4 separate regions of the Homo sapiens genome follow, and regions 2, 3 and 4 are each linked to region 1. Evidence: promoter capture Hi-C in 16 types of primary human blood cells and fetal thymus (Javierre and others, 2016). All regions are on one chromosome and are shown on one strand. Each heading gives the region's core, a stretch centred on a gene start or on the middle of the fragment in contact. The rest is flanking DNA. Distances are from core to core; before and after follow the strand shown.

What was found. The method cuts DNA at HindIII sites, captures the fragments that hold promoters and counts their contacts. A CHiCAGO score of 5 or more calls a contact.
Region 2: the fragment with the promoter of ATG12 here is called in contact with the fragment with the promoter of DCP2 in region 1 in 3 of 17 cell types (neutrophils, total B cells and total CD4 T cells); the score reaches 10.5 in neutrophils.
Region 3: a contact is called between the fragment with the promoter of CCDC112 here and the fragment with the promoter of DCP2 in region 1, in 2 of 17 cell types (fetal thymus and M0 macrophages). The highest score is 9.3, in fetal thymus.
Region 4: a contact is called between the fragment with the promoter of PGGT1B here and the fragment with the promoter of DCP2 in region 1, in 5 of 17 cell types (total CD4 T cells, total B cells, activated CD4 T cells and 2 more). The highest score is 8.1, in total CD4 T cells.

Annotation. Positions count from the first base shown.
Region 1 is chr5:112,975,384-112,978,182 of GRCh38, forward strand. DCP2 (decapping mRNA 2) reads left to right here and starts at 1,415. Exons shown (of 11, transcript NM_152624.6): 1 at 1,415-1,603. The coding sequence starts at 1,551. RefSeq lists enhancers at 906-955, 986-1,065, 1,081-1,840, 1,376-1,425, 1,496-1,585 and 2 more. The HindIII fragment of the contact is 6,686 bases long and covers 1-2,799 here.
Region 2 is chr5:115,840,315-115,843,113 of GRCh38, forward strand. It overlaps ATG12 (autophagy related 12), which reads right to left and starts at 1,251. Exons shown (of 4, transcript NM_004707.4): 1 at 1,076-1,251. The coding sequence starts at 1,238. AP3S1 (adaptor related protein complex 3 subunit sigma 1) reads left to right here and starts at 1,621. Exons shown (of 6, transcript NM_001284.4): 1 at 1,621-1,792. The coding sequence starts at 1,724. RefSeq lists enhancers at 114-614, 618-1,519, 908-1,207, 1,218-1,267, 2,258-2,467 and silencers at 1,498-1,877, 1,978-2,167. The HindIII fragment of the contact is 16,491 bases long and covers 1-2,799 here.
Region 3 is chr5:115,295,318-115,298,116 of GRCh38, forward strand. CCDC112 (coiled-coil domain containing 112) reads right to left here and starts at 1,337. Exons shown (of 10, transcript NM_001040440.3): 1 at 1,110-1,337. The coding sequence starts at 1,226. It overlaps LOC105379129 (a long non-coding RNA gene), which reads left to right and starts at 1,611. Exons shown (of 5, transcript XR_948684.3): 1 at 1,611-2,031. RefSeq lists a silencer at 986-1,435. The HindIII fragment of the contact is 8,729 bases long and covers 1-2,799 here.
Region 4 is chr5:115,261,481-115,264,279 of GRCh38, forward strand. PGGT1B (protein geranylgeranyltransferase type I subunit beta) reads right to left here and starts at 1,397. Exons shown (of 9, transcript NM_005023.4): 1 at 1,232-1,397. The coding sequence starts at 1,371. RefSeq lists enhancers at 1,256-1,435, 1,466-1,515. The HindIII fragment of the contact is 10,345 bases long and covers 1-2,799 here.

The DNA.
Region 1 (2,799 bases), core at 165-2,664:
ACTCCAGGTTAAGGCCTTACTCTTAAGTGTGAGTGAATAGTCAAGGACTACAGAGGCTTCTAATAGGATAGATGAGATCAAGATAATAGCAAAAAGCAGCTGAGAGGAATAAGACTACTCAGGGAGAAGAAAACGTCAAAATCTATTATTAATATCCTCAGAAGGATAAAATAAAATATACAAAGCAAGAATGTGACACCACAAGAAAGGGGCATTTGAAGAACAAAACAGAACTCTAAATAAGTAAAAACTCTGTAGTTGTCAGGAAGATAAATTTGAGGAATTCTCCAAGAAAGAGGGGAAAAAAAAGATGGAAAACGGGAGCAAAATAGATGGTGACGGGCCTCTTATGCCAAAGGAACTTGGGCTTGATCATACAGCAGAAACTGAAAAGATAACTTGTTCCTATCTGAGTAAAACAAAACAAAATGTAGGCAGTTGCACAGGCCAAGAATGGAGGCAGAGTCAGTGGTTAGGCAGCTCTCACTGTAGTATGGAGAAATGATGCAAAACTGAAGTACACAGTGGCATGTGACAAATTTAGACAAAAGATGGGAGATTAAATGGTAGAACAGACTAAACTTGTGACGGAGCAGGTGTGTGTGGGCCTGTGGGTCTGATGTAAGAGGAAAAAGAACAGATGGATCTAGTTTCTCCAAAGATCCCAAATGGATTGGTCTCCATTAAGCAAGACGAGGAATGAATAAGGACGAGCAGGTGGGGATTGCTTTGTGCAGAGGGTGGAATACAGATCAGAGTTCAGCTTAAATCAGTATTTTCTAAGATTTTGCTAGGTGCCAGATACTGAGATAAAGTCCTTGTCTTCATGTTTGGAACCAGGTGCCTAAGGAAGCACAGAGGAGAGCCACCTCCAAAATGGATACCCTCTCCAAGGGTTTGTAGTGAAAGAGGCACAGCTCTTGGCCTGGAGTTGGTGGGGGCTGCGATAAGTGCAAGATACTTGGTGACAGGAATCGCGAGCATACTCTTGTGTTGTACGGATTCTCAGGGTCGGCCCTGCAGAGGAAAGAGCTCAGTCACCGCGAGGTCCTGCACAACATGCCAAAGTCCCGGATATGTGTCCGGGGTCTACACCTAAGCCCCGACCCCTCTGAACTTCCCAGAAGCGCGCAGGAGGCATGGTGCGCATGCGTGTAGCCACCTCAAAGGCGGCGGGAAGTTGGTTTTCTGAGTAGCAACTGAGCAGCTTGAAGACGGATTGGAAGTAGCAGACCAATAAACAAACGTCTCATTGGCTTAGAGTGCTTAGAGTCCCAATTCTTCAGCTTCCCATTGGGCCTTTCAAGCGAGCAGGGGCGTGACTCCGGGGGCTCCGCCCCGAGCCTTGGCCCAGTCTTGGGGTCCAAGGCTGAGGGAGCGGGACGGAAGTGAGCGGGTCCCGCCCCTTCCCCTTCTCGTCTCCGTTGGAGTCGTCTCTGCCGCGGCTTCCTCGGCTGCCAGCTCTCCGGCGAGCCGGAGTCCTAGTGCCGTACCGTCAGTCCCCGGCCGCGCGGAGCCGGGATGCACTGTTCCTGCTGTGGGTCCTCATCATGGAGACCAAACGGGTGGAGATTCCCGGCAGCGTCCTGGACGATCTCTGCAGGTACCGCGCTACCCGACCCCCTTTCGCCCCCGTCGGGTTTTCTCAGTTTCGCGGACCCCCAGAGGCCTCTGGGTCTTCTTCCCCGCCCACGTCCATGTCCTCGCTTTCCGCTCCCGCCGCTGCTCGCTTTCCATCGTCGACCCTGCTCTCCGACGACACCGCCCCTCTTTCCGCCGCAGCCTCCCTGTTTCTCAAGGCCCTCCGTCCTTCCCCGCAGAACACCCGGAATTTCCTCATTTTTTAAGTTACTCAACTATTTTGCTTTCCCGCAGGCGTAGCCGCTTCGCCGGAGCCTGGGTCTTAGCGTTTTGCCGCCGCCGCCGCCTCCCTCTCCCATTGTTTTTTCTGCCTCTGTGACTTTTCCACGCCGTGCACCCCCTCCTCCCTGTGTCTCATTCCCCGATTCTGAAGGAAGACCCCCAGGGTAGTAATTTAAGGCTTAGGATCCCAGGTACGCGGACCTGCGCAAGGAGCAAATTTTCGGACTTATTCTGACGCCTGCGTGTTATTTGTCCGTGGCGTTCTCTGTAAATTCCTGTAAGGAATTACTTTTTTTTTCTCATCCCTGGACTTGTCTTTGGGGGAGAGAGGGAAAAAGTGTAGCGCTGCTTTTCTTTTTATCCTTAATAATCCTATTTTAAAGGAAATTCTCAACCGCGGGGTTTTAACTCAGGGTGTATACTTCAGATGAGAAATTTTCTGCATTCTTCCCCCTTGTCAACTCTGATTTCAGATAGCCAAACACGTGTAGGATACTTAAAAATGCTTATTTTCCGAAGGTAAAATTTGGAGTGCAGTGATACCCGGAGTTGTCGCCAAGTGTGTGTGGATTGTGATTACAAGTGATAACACCTTTTCGTTCACAGTTACTGTGTTTATGTTTTAAAAGGCAGGCTTTTAGTAGTTGTATCTCCTTCATGCAGTTTTTTTTAATGGAAAGTAAAGAACTGGTGTTTGTGGAGTTTTTTGGGGTTTTTTTTGTTTGTTTGTTTTTTTGTTTTTATTTTTTGAGACGGAGCCTCTTTCTTTTGCCCAGGCTGGTGTGCAGTGGTGCGGTCTTGGCTCACTGCAACCTCTGCCTTCCGGATTCAAACGAGTCTCTGCCTCAGCCTCCCTAGCAGCTGGGATTACAGGCACCCGCCACCACACCCGGCTAATTTTTGTATTTTTAGTAGAGACGGGATTTCACCATCTTG
Region 2 (2,799 bases), core at 1-2,500, 2.9 Mb after region 1:
GAGGCGGAGTTTCGCTCTTGTTGTCCAGGCTGGAGTGCAATGGCGAGACCTCCGCCCACTGCCACCTCCGCCTCGCGGGTTCAAGCGATTCTCCTGCCTCAGCCTCCCGAGTAGCTGGGATTACAGGCGCGCGCCACCACACCCATCTAACTTTTATATTTTTAGTAGAGATGGAGTCTTACCATGTTGGCCAGGCTGGTCTCGAACTCTTGACCTCAGGTGATCCACCCGCCTCAGCCTACCAAAGTGCTGGGATTACAGGAGTGAGCCACCGCGCCCGGCCAGAGACCACTGTCATCTTAAGACAGAACGGGGAAAACGTCTAAGGACGAAATCAGCCTCTCTGAATCGAGGATGCTTATATGCTGCTTTTCCCATAGGCAACTCTAACTCTAAACAGAGTGCTTTAGAACACGTAATTTTAGCAATCTCTTTTACAAAGGGAAACATTCTCAAGCAATAAAGGGTTGAGGATAGCTGACTCAAGCAATGAAATAACTCACAAAGGTTCCAAAATGTGTTTCTTAAAAAGGTAACATCTATGCCTTTAGCTTTCCCTTAGCAGTCTTCATTCTGCATAAGAATTTGGTTTTTGGTTTAAGGAGTGAATTCACAACCAACTGGGAGGGGGAAAAAAGCAAAAGCGAGTTAAGTTGGAAGGCATGAATTCTAATCCAGGCTTTGCCAATGACCACCCCTACCACCATAAAACATTACTCAAATAATTAGCTCCTGTGTTAAGTACCTGGAATTACCGAGACCCCCCTCCCCCCGCCCCACTCAGCTCCCTCCCTCCTTCAAAGAGCTCGCAGTCTGGCCAACTCAAAAAAATACAGTATAAAAATAAGTGTGGCAGCCAAGTATCAGGCCCTACACCGATAGACAGAGATGGTATTTTAACACTCAACTTAAAGGCCTTAAAAATCAAAAAGTACACTTCTTTTCTTCTGATGACTGGTCAAAATGCAGGTCTAGGACAGGCGCTCCTCTAAATTTTGCTTCTTTACTGGCCGCCACCCCTACTCGGATGCAATCTGAACCTCCCGCCTCTCTGCCCGGAAATAAATTCAGTTACTTTTTTTCTTGGTGTCGCCAGCAGGTTCCTCTGTTCCCGGGGAAACTGCAGCGGAAGACGGGGGCTCCGGGGTGGTTGTTTCTGGGGAGACATCCGTAAGTCCTTCCCCTCCAGCAGCAATTGAAGTAGGAAGCTGCAACACAGACTGCGGCTCCTCCGCCATCTTGCTTGGAGACACTCGAGAGCGGAAGTAGCGACTGAGCGCGTGCAGTGGGCGTGCTTTTCTCCAGGGAGCGTCGCAAAGGAGGCGCCGGAGTAGGGGGACGCAATTACACAGTGAAACTTGGTGTTCCCGGCTAGTCATTCAAATCGAAGCTGTCGCAGACCTCTGAACGTTAGTAACGCAACATGTGTTTCTCCGCGACTACAGACCTCGGGAGAGGAGCGGTGGGCAACGTGTCTGTGCTCGGTCGAATGCGCACACTCCAGTTAGGCCGCTGGCTCGGACCTAGAAATGTTTCCGCTTTCCTTAGTGCCTGCCCCGCCCAGGCCCCGCCCCTTGGGCCCCGCCCGACGGCTCGGGAGCGCGCGCGGTCGCGTGCGGGAGGGGGCGGGTGGGGAAGGATCGCAGGCGAGATTACGAGGCGAGGCTCGCGCGCCCGCCCCCGCCCTGGCCCCCAGTGCCCACCCGGTCGGCCCGGCACAGCCATGATCAAGGCGATCCTAATCTTCAACAACCACGGGAAGCCGCGGCTCTCCAAGTTCTACCAGCCCTACGTGAGTATCCAGCCGCCGCTGATCCGGGCGAGGGGGAGTCGTTGGCGACGGGCAGCGCCCAGCGCGGCTTTCTCAGAGCGACCCCCTCCGGCGCGCTGCGGCCCTTGTCCCGTCCCGGCCGCCTGGCGCTCGCCAGCTGTCAGCCTCCTGGTGGGTGTGGACAGGGTGCCCACCTCCCTGCCGCGCGGTCAGCCACCGACGTGGCTTTGCCCGGGCGGTTCCTCCGCCCGTCGGTGGGCTGCATGCTTTCCTGGCTGCGCGGGCGAGGCCCTGGAGACTTCCCGGGGCCCGGCCCTCGCCGATCGGGCAGCCGCAGCCCAGCCGCGCCGCGGAGCCCTGCGCCCAGTCCCCAAGAGCCCACCCCGCGCGGCTGCCTTCCTGCCGCCCGCGGCTGCAGTTAGCCCGGGAGGAGGAAGACGGCGTGGAACTCGTTCTTCTCGCCCCCCTCCGCCGACTCCCATCCTTTCCAGGTGGACTTCTTTCTGTTCTTTGGACAGATGGGCTACCGTTTTTCACTGTGGTCCTCTCATAGCACAGGAACTTTGGCTTCCTGCGTTTGATAACTGCACGTTCTGTACAGTCTCTCTTCTGCATGTTTCGATACGTGACAGACTGCCCAGTGTGACTTTCAGGTGTCTCCTTATTGAAAAGGAAGATATGTGAGGACCTAATATTTTTATCAGGCTTTTTACCAGCTGGCTGCAAATTATTTACCCTCGAAGTAACCGGCGACGTTTGTAGTTGACTGATTGGAGCTGTGGTTCTATACCTAAAAGTTATGATTTCAGCTTCTGGTTTGGCATTTTTCCACGTATGGGAATTTGCCCTCATTTATAGTTTTTTTCTATTTATGAAGAATAGTAGCATTTGTAGAACTTCTCTTTTAACGTGTAAATACTGTTTAGTATGGACAAGTGCAGGAGGCATTAAGGTAGTAGAGATAAGTGATTTGTTGATGATCGAGGAAGGGTTTTATAGAGTTATGTGCTTACCTGAGGGCAGAATTC
Region 3 (2,799 bases), core at 87-2,586, 2.3 Mb after region 1:
CCAGCAACATGGTGTCACACATTTTTTTGAGCATAGTACTTAAAAATACTTTACGTATTATGTATATTTATATATTTTACATTTTTTCCTGAGATACTTGGGACAGAGTTAGAATAATAAAGAGAATTATAGAGGATGTGTGAGAAAATTTGCCGTAGGTGGAATTTCCTGAAGGTCTACGAGTAAAGACACTGTATTTCCTTAAAGGAGGAAAAAGATGGAACCTCTCCTCAGCTCATGACAGCCTTCCTTCAGGTTTATATTGATCCACAAATTATTTAGTAAGTGCATACTACGTTCCAGGCACTACACAACAGGCATAGTTCTTGGTGCTGGGAATACAATAAAGAATAAAATTTCCAATACTTTCTGCCCTCATGGAGCTTACATTCTCATGGGGGTGCGAGGGAGGGTGAGGGGTGTGAGGAGAAACATAAACAATAGAAATAAAGTATGTAATATAATATATGGTACTAAGTGCTATGGGGAAAAATAAAACCAGAAACAGGGACTGGGTGTGCCGCGTAAGGCGATTCATTTTAGGGAGATCATGGAAAGTCTCGCTGAGCTGATAACATCTGAACAAAGATACCTTGTCCTCACCACCTAGAAAGCGGTCCTAAGCCGATCACTGGAAACACCTCTGCCTCCGACCATCCCATATTGTCTTTCTCCTTGTGTTCCCAGCGCCGGTACAGTAACAGAGCTGCCACCAATTACTGAGCACAGAGTCCCCCTCCAATCAAGCACTGTGCCAGGGGCTCCCCAGACATAACGTTAGTCCAAAGCTCGGGAGGTGCATGTTACTATTCCCAATTTTTAGAGAAGAAAGTGAGTCGCCGACAGCATATGTTCTTATCACGCGGCTAGGAAGCGGCAGAGCCGGGTTCCCACCCAGGTCTTCCTCGACTCCGAAACCACATGGAGGCGGCTCTGCAAAAGCTGTTAAACGCACAAGCCAACAAAGAGCAACGCCCAGCGCGTGCCAGGCCCCGAGCAGGGGAGGCGAACGCCGCGCCTCCCGCCGGCGCTGCAGAGGGCACCTGTTCAGCCAGGGCCTGCAGCCCCTCGCCTGCCGCCAGAGCAGCTCTCGGTTCTCCCGGATTTACCTGTTGAGGCGCTGGCGTCGCTCCCACGCCGGTCCCGGTGGCCGCGCCCGCCCCTGCCACAGCCCCGGCTACCGCGGTGGCCGCAGCCGCTACCACAACCGTCGTCAGTGCGGCCATGTTTACCCGCCGAGCTACTCGGGCCGCGGCGGCCACCGGTGCCTGGGGATTCGTGGCAGGCGCACCCTGGCCTCTGCAGACAGCTCCCTGCGCTGCGGGCTTGGCCGGGATGCAGGGCGGGGCCGAGATGTAGGGCGGGGTCGGGATGCAGGGCGGGGCTGAGATGCGGGGGTGCAGGGGTGCGGGGGTGCGGGAGGGGCGGGACTGGGGTGCAGGGCGGGGCCGAAATGCGAGGCGGGGGCCGGGATTCAGGCGGGGAGGGGCGGGGCGAGGGAGGGGCAAGGTGCCGGGCGGAGCCGGGATGCAGGGGAGGGGCGGGTCTGGGGTTCTGGGGCGGGCGGGTGTGGGGGCGGGGCGGGGCGGGGCGGGGGCTGCGCTCTGCCCTGTCGCGGGTTTATATACCCTTTGGGCACTTAACCGACTGTGCCAGCCCAGTCCCATACCTGTCAAGAAAATTCATTGTCTTACATCGTCCTTAAATTTTATTCGTGTTATAGTCAATATATACATATTTTTACCTAATATACATCCGCTTTCTAGGTTTCTACTTAGCGCTGCTGAGACTGAGTCTAAATGAAAAAACATTATCAATGGATTCTAACAATAAATCATATTTTAGATTTTTAAAGAAAAAAACCCAGCTTGCTCCACAGAACCAGATATCAGAGGCAGGAATGCCACAGTTACATTCCTAGGACTTGGTCAATGAGAAGACAGATTCCAAAAATACAGTGCTGGGAAGTTGGAAAAAAGCCACAGATGACGCTTCCAGTCAAGACAACCTGTGGCAACTGAGCTGATTTCTGTAGGTACTACCTTTTCCCCCTTTATAGAAATCGATTCATTCAGTCAGTCAATATGGAGCTCCTAGCATATGTCAGGCACTGTTCTAGGCCTTGGGAATTCATTGTTGAATTAGACACATAGGTAAGGTTCCTTCACCTTTAACAAGTAAACAAATAGGTATTTATTGAGCAATTCCTTTATGCCAGGGCTGTTATAAGTGCTTTATATGCACTTTTGCATTTAATCTTCACAAATAACTTCATGAAGTAGGTACTATTATCATCTCCATTTCAGTGATAAAGTTAAGGATCACATGGCCACACAGGTAGAGGGTAGGATACCTATCTAGACAGCCTGACTCCAGAGACCATCCTGGTAGAGGTATTAAACAGGCAGCGGGATAAACGCCTCTGGAGCCCAGGAGAGAGAGAGCTAAAGATACGAATTTGATCTTCCTATAGAAAATATTTGAAATAAGACTGAATGAGCTCACCCAGGGTGAGTATAAATTGAAGTCTGAGAACTAAGCCTAGGCCACTCCGAGAAGGTGACCACGGACAAGAGGAGAAGGGGACCAATATGGAGAGATCTGTGAGAAGGGAGGAAAACCGGAAGTCTGTGGAGGGAAGTTTTTGCAGAAGAGGCCGGACGTGGTGGCTTACGCCTGTAATCCCAGCACTTTGGGAGGCCGAGGTGGGCGGATCACGAGGTCAGGAGATGGAGACCATCCTGGCCAACATGGTGAAACCCCATCTCTACTAAAAATACAAAAATTAGCTGGGCGTGG
Region 4 (2,799 bases), core at 147-2,646, 2.3 Mb after region 1:
TGGGTACTTGAAATGTGGTGGCTACTACCAAAAGAATCACTTAATTTTTAATTTGATTTAATTAATTCAAATCAAAATAGCCAAATGTGGCTAGTGGCTACCAGATTGGACAGGGCAGCCCAGTCCTAAGTATAGAGGTAAACAAGATAGACGAAAATGTTACCTTTGTGAAGTTTATAATCCAGTGTAATAGAAAGACATTAAACAAATAAACCAATACATACGTAATGTGAGGTGGTCATTGGAAGTGGTCCCTTTAGGAAGGGTGTTTAAGGAAGGCCTCTCTAAAGATATCTGGATTATGTACATGCCTGTCTATATACTCCTATGAACACTACACTAACATATAGCACAGAACTCTATACAAATGCTTGTCTTGTTCAGCTGTACTCTGGCACCTACCATAATGTGGTTCTTGACCAAGTGTGCAGAAGTAATCTGCAAAGCTCCCCAAACTGATCCGGTCATGCAGTGTTCAAAATACACCAGCAACTCAGAATTTGGAAAACGTGGGGAAAGAACACAGCAAAAACAAGCCGCTCTTTCCTCCCATCCAGTCTCAAGCAGCTTTTGAGCTTCACTTCAAAACACAGCAATGCGGAGCAAAGATTGCCTTCTCCTTTCTTTCTTCTCATCCCCAGCTTTTACTGTAAATGAAGTCGCTTAGTCTCTGCCGCACCACACTCTTCAGCTATTGCGATACTTTTAACAGGCTGCTTCACGCAACACCACACCTCTTTCGCCTACCATTAGATTTATAGTTCCCACAAAGTTTCTAAGACCTTAGAGGTTCTCTGCCGCTCCTACACATAAAACACCATACAGACACTCTATTAAGAGTTAATGACTTTAGAGAGGACAAGGATGCACAGAAGTATTCATCTAAAAATACGACGACAAACTTTGTCCTTTTCCTTTTACACTCGGAAGTAATGAGGCAAAGTGACAGGCTATGGGAGCGGGTAAAAAAGCAGCTCAGAGTTGCCAGAAGAAAAGGGAAGTGAAAAAGCCGGAAACTGGAGATGCCACAGCCCTCGACCTACAGCCTTCCAGACCTTCCCACCGTACGGCGGGAGAGTGGGGGTAACCTCAAGCCCACTTGAAACCAGTCAGTGCCAACTGGGCGGCCGCGCAGCCCCCTTCCGGCGCCCAGTTTGCGGTCCGACTCCGCCGCGCCTTTCCGCTGGAGCCCGGGCCTTGTGCCAGCCTGGCTGACTGTGCCACGAGTTACCTGCTTGTCTCGAGTGAAGAATAGCGCTCCGGCAAAACCTGGAGGCAGCGCTGGAAAAATCGCACGTGCCGATCCCGTAAGAAATCCAGCCGCTCTCCCTCACCGCTCCCTGCTAGCCTCTCATCCTCAGTGGCCGCCATGCTGCTCCGGAAGCGACGTCCGCCGCGACCCGGAATCAGTGCCCGCGGAGAGAAAGAACCCTCCTGTGCTGAACCACAGGGTGCCGGGTGAGGGGACCTGCGCCCGCCGCAGACTAAGCCAGTATTTGAAACCGCTATCATCTGGGTCCTGTGCAGCACTTCCTCTCTCCGATATCTCCCTAGCTAGCGCATGACCCTACCTTTTCTACTCAAAGCCCTCGAGGCTTGTAAACACCTCGCAGGCCTTGTGAAAATCAAGTCCACAAATCCCTCCGTCAGAATTTTTATCTTGGGAAGCGCAAGGTCAAAAGCATCAAGTACGCTTTGAGACAATTCTGGCTCTGTAGAACCTGAGGATGGTATATCTGAAAACGAGGATGGATCAGTATAAACTTGCTAACAGATTCATTTTTGGAGGGCCAGTTTTAAGCCGAACGGTTAGGGAAACAGAAAAACAAACCAGTGGAGATAAATGTTTATTGACACTACAAAAGCTCAGAGACTTTCCTAATCTTAATCCTTTCTGGATACCAGGAATCACTTAAAAATCTGTGTATAATGCCCCCAAACATATACAACATGCATATTCATACCTATATATGACTGCTTGCGTCATTCTTTTACAAATCTTACAGATTTTACTTTGCTTGAGTCGACGTGTTATCAAGAATCAATGGTGCATCAATCTGCAACAGCAAAATAAGCTCAATATCTTCTCCAATTACCTGCATTCTAAAAAATTTAAACATGCTTCTAGTTCTTTTTTCCAAAAATAGGGATTTAAGTTGTTTAGCCGGTATACTATGCCCTTTAAACTTTCATGAGGCATTCCTGAGTAGCGGGTGGGGGGATCCACCCAATAATATAACTAAACTAGGTTCCCTGTGATCAACTTAGCTAATAAAATTTTGGGTTTAATTTTGTTAGCTTTCTTAGAAAATGTAATTCTTATACTCTATGGGCTGGGGTAATCTTACACTTATTCAACAATCCAAAGTGCTCTGAATAATTTTTGGTACTATTAACTACTTATTCACAGGTATTCCTGCATGTCTTTACAAAATGCCGCATTTAACAGCCACAGACGGATTCTAGGCTGTCCTCGGTACTTCCCTACAAATACGGAGCTCACAGTCCTTGCCCTTCAGGTGTGCCCAGTCTGGAGTTTCCACTGTTATTAAAATTAAGATCTCTCACTTAGCACACATACCCCCAAATGCCTGAAGATTTTTAAAGTGGAGTCTTATACACATTTAACTTACTGGAATCAGCTATGGACACTCTATACATTCTCAGAAAATTAATTCTAATAAACATGGCCCTTAAGTTAGGGAAGCCAAATGTTTCATCTGATTCTCAGCTCAAGGACTAGCAATCTGATCCAAATCTAGAGGAAAAATTTGCAATGTGGGACTCATTCAGAGATAA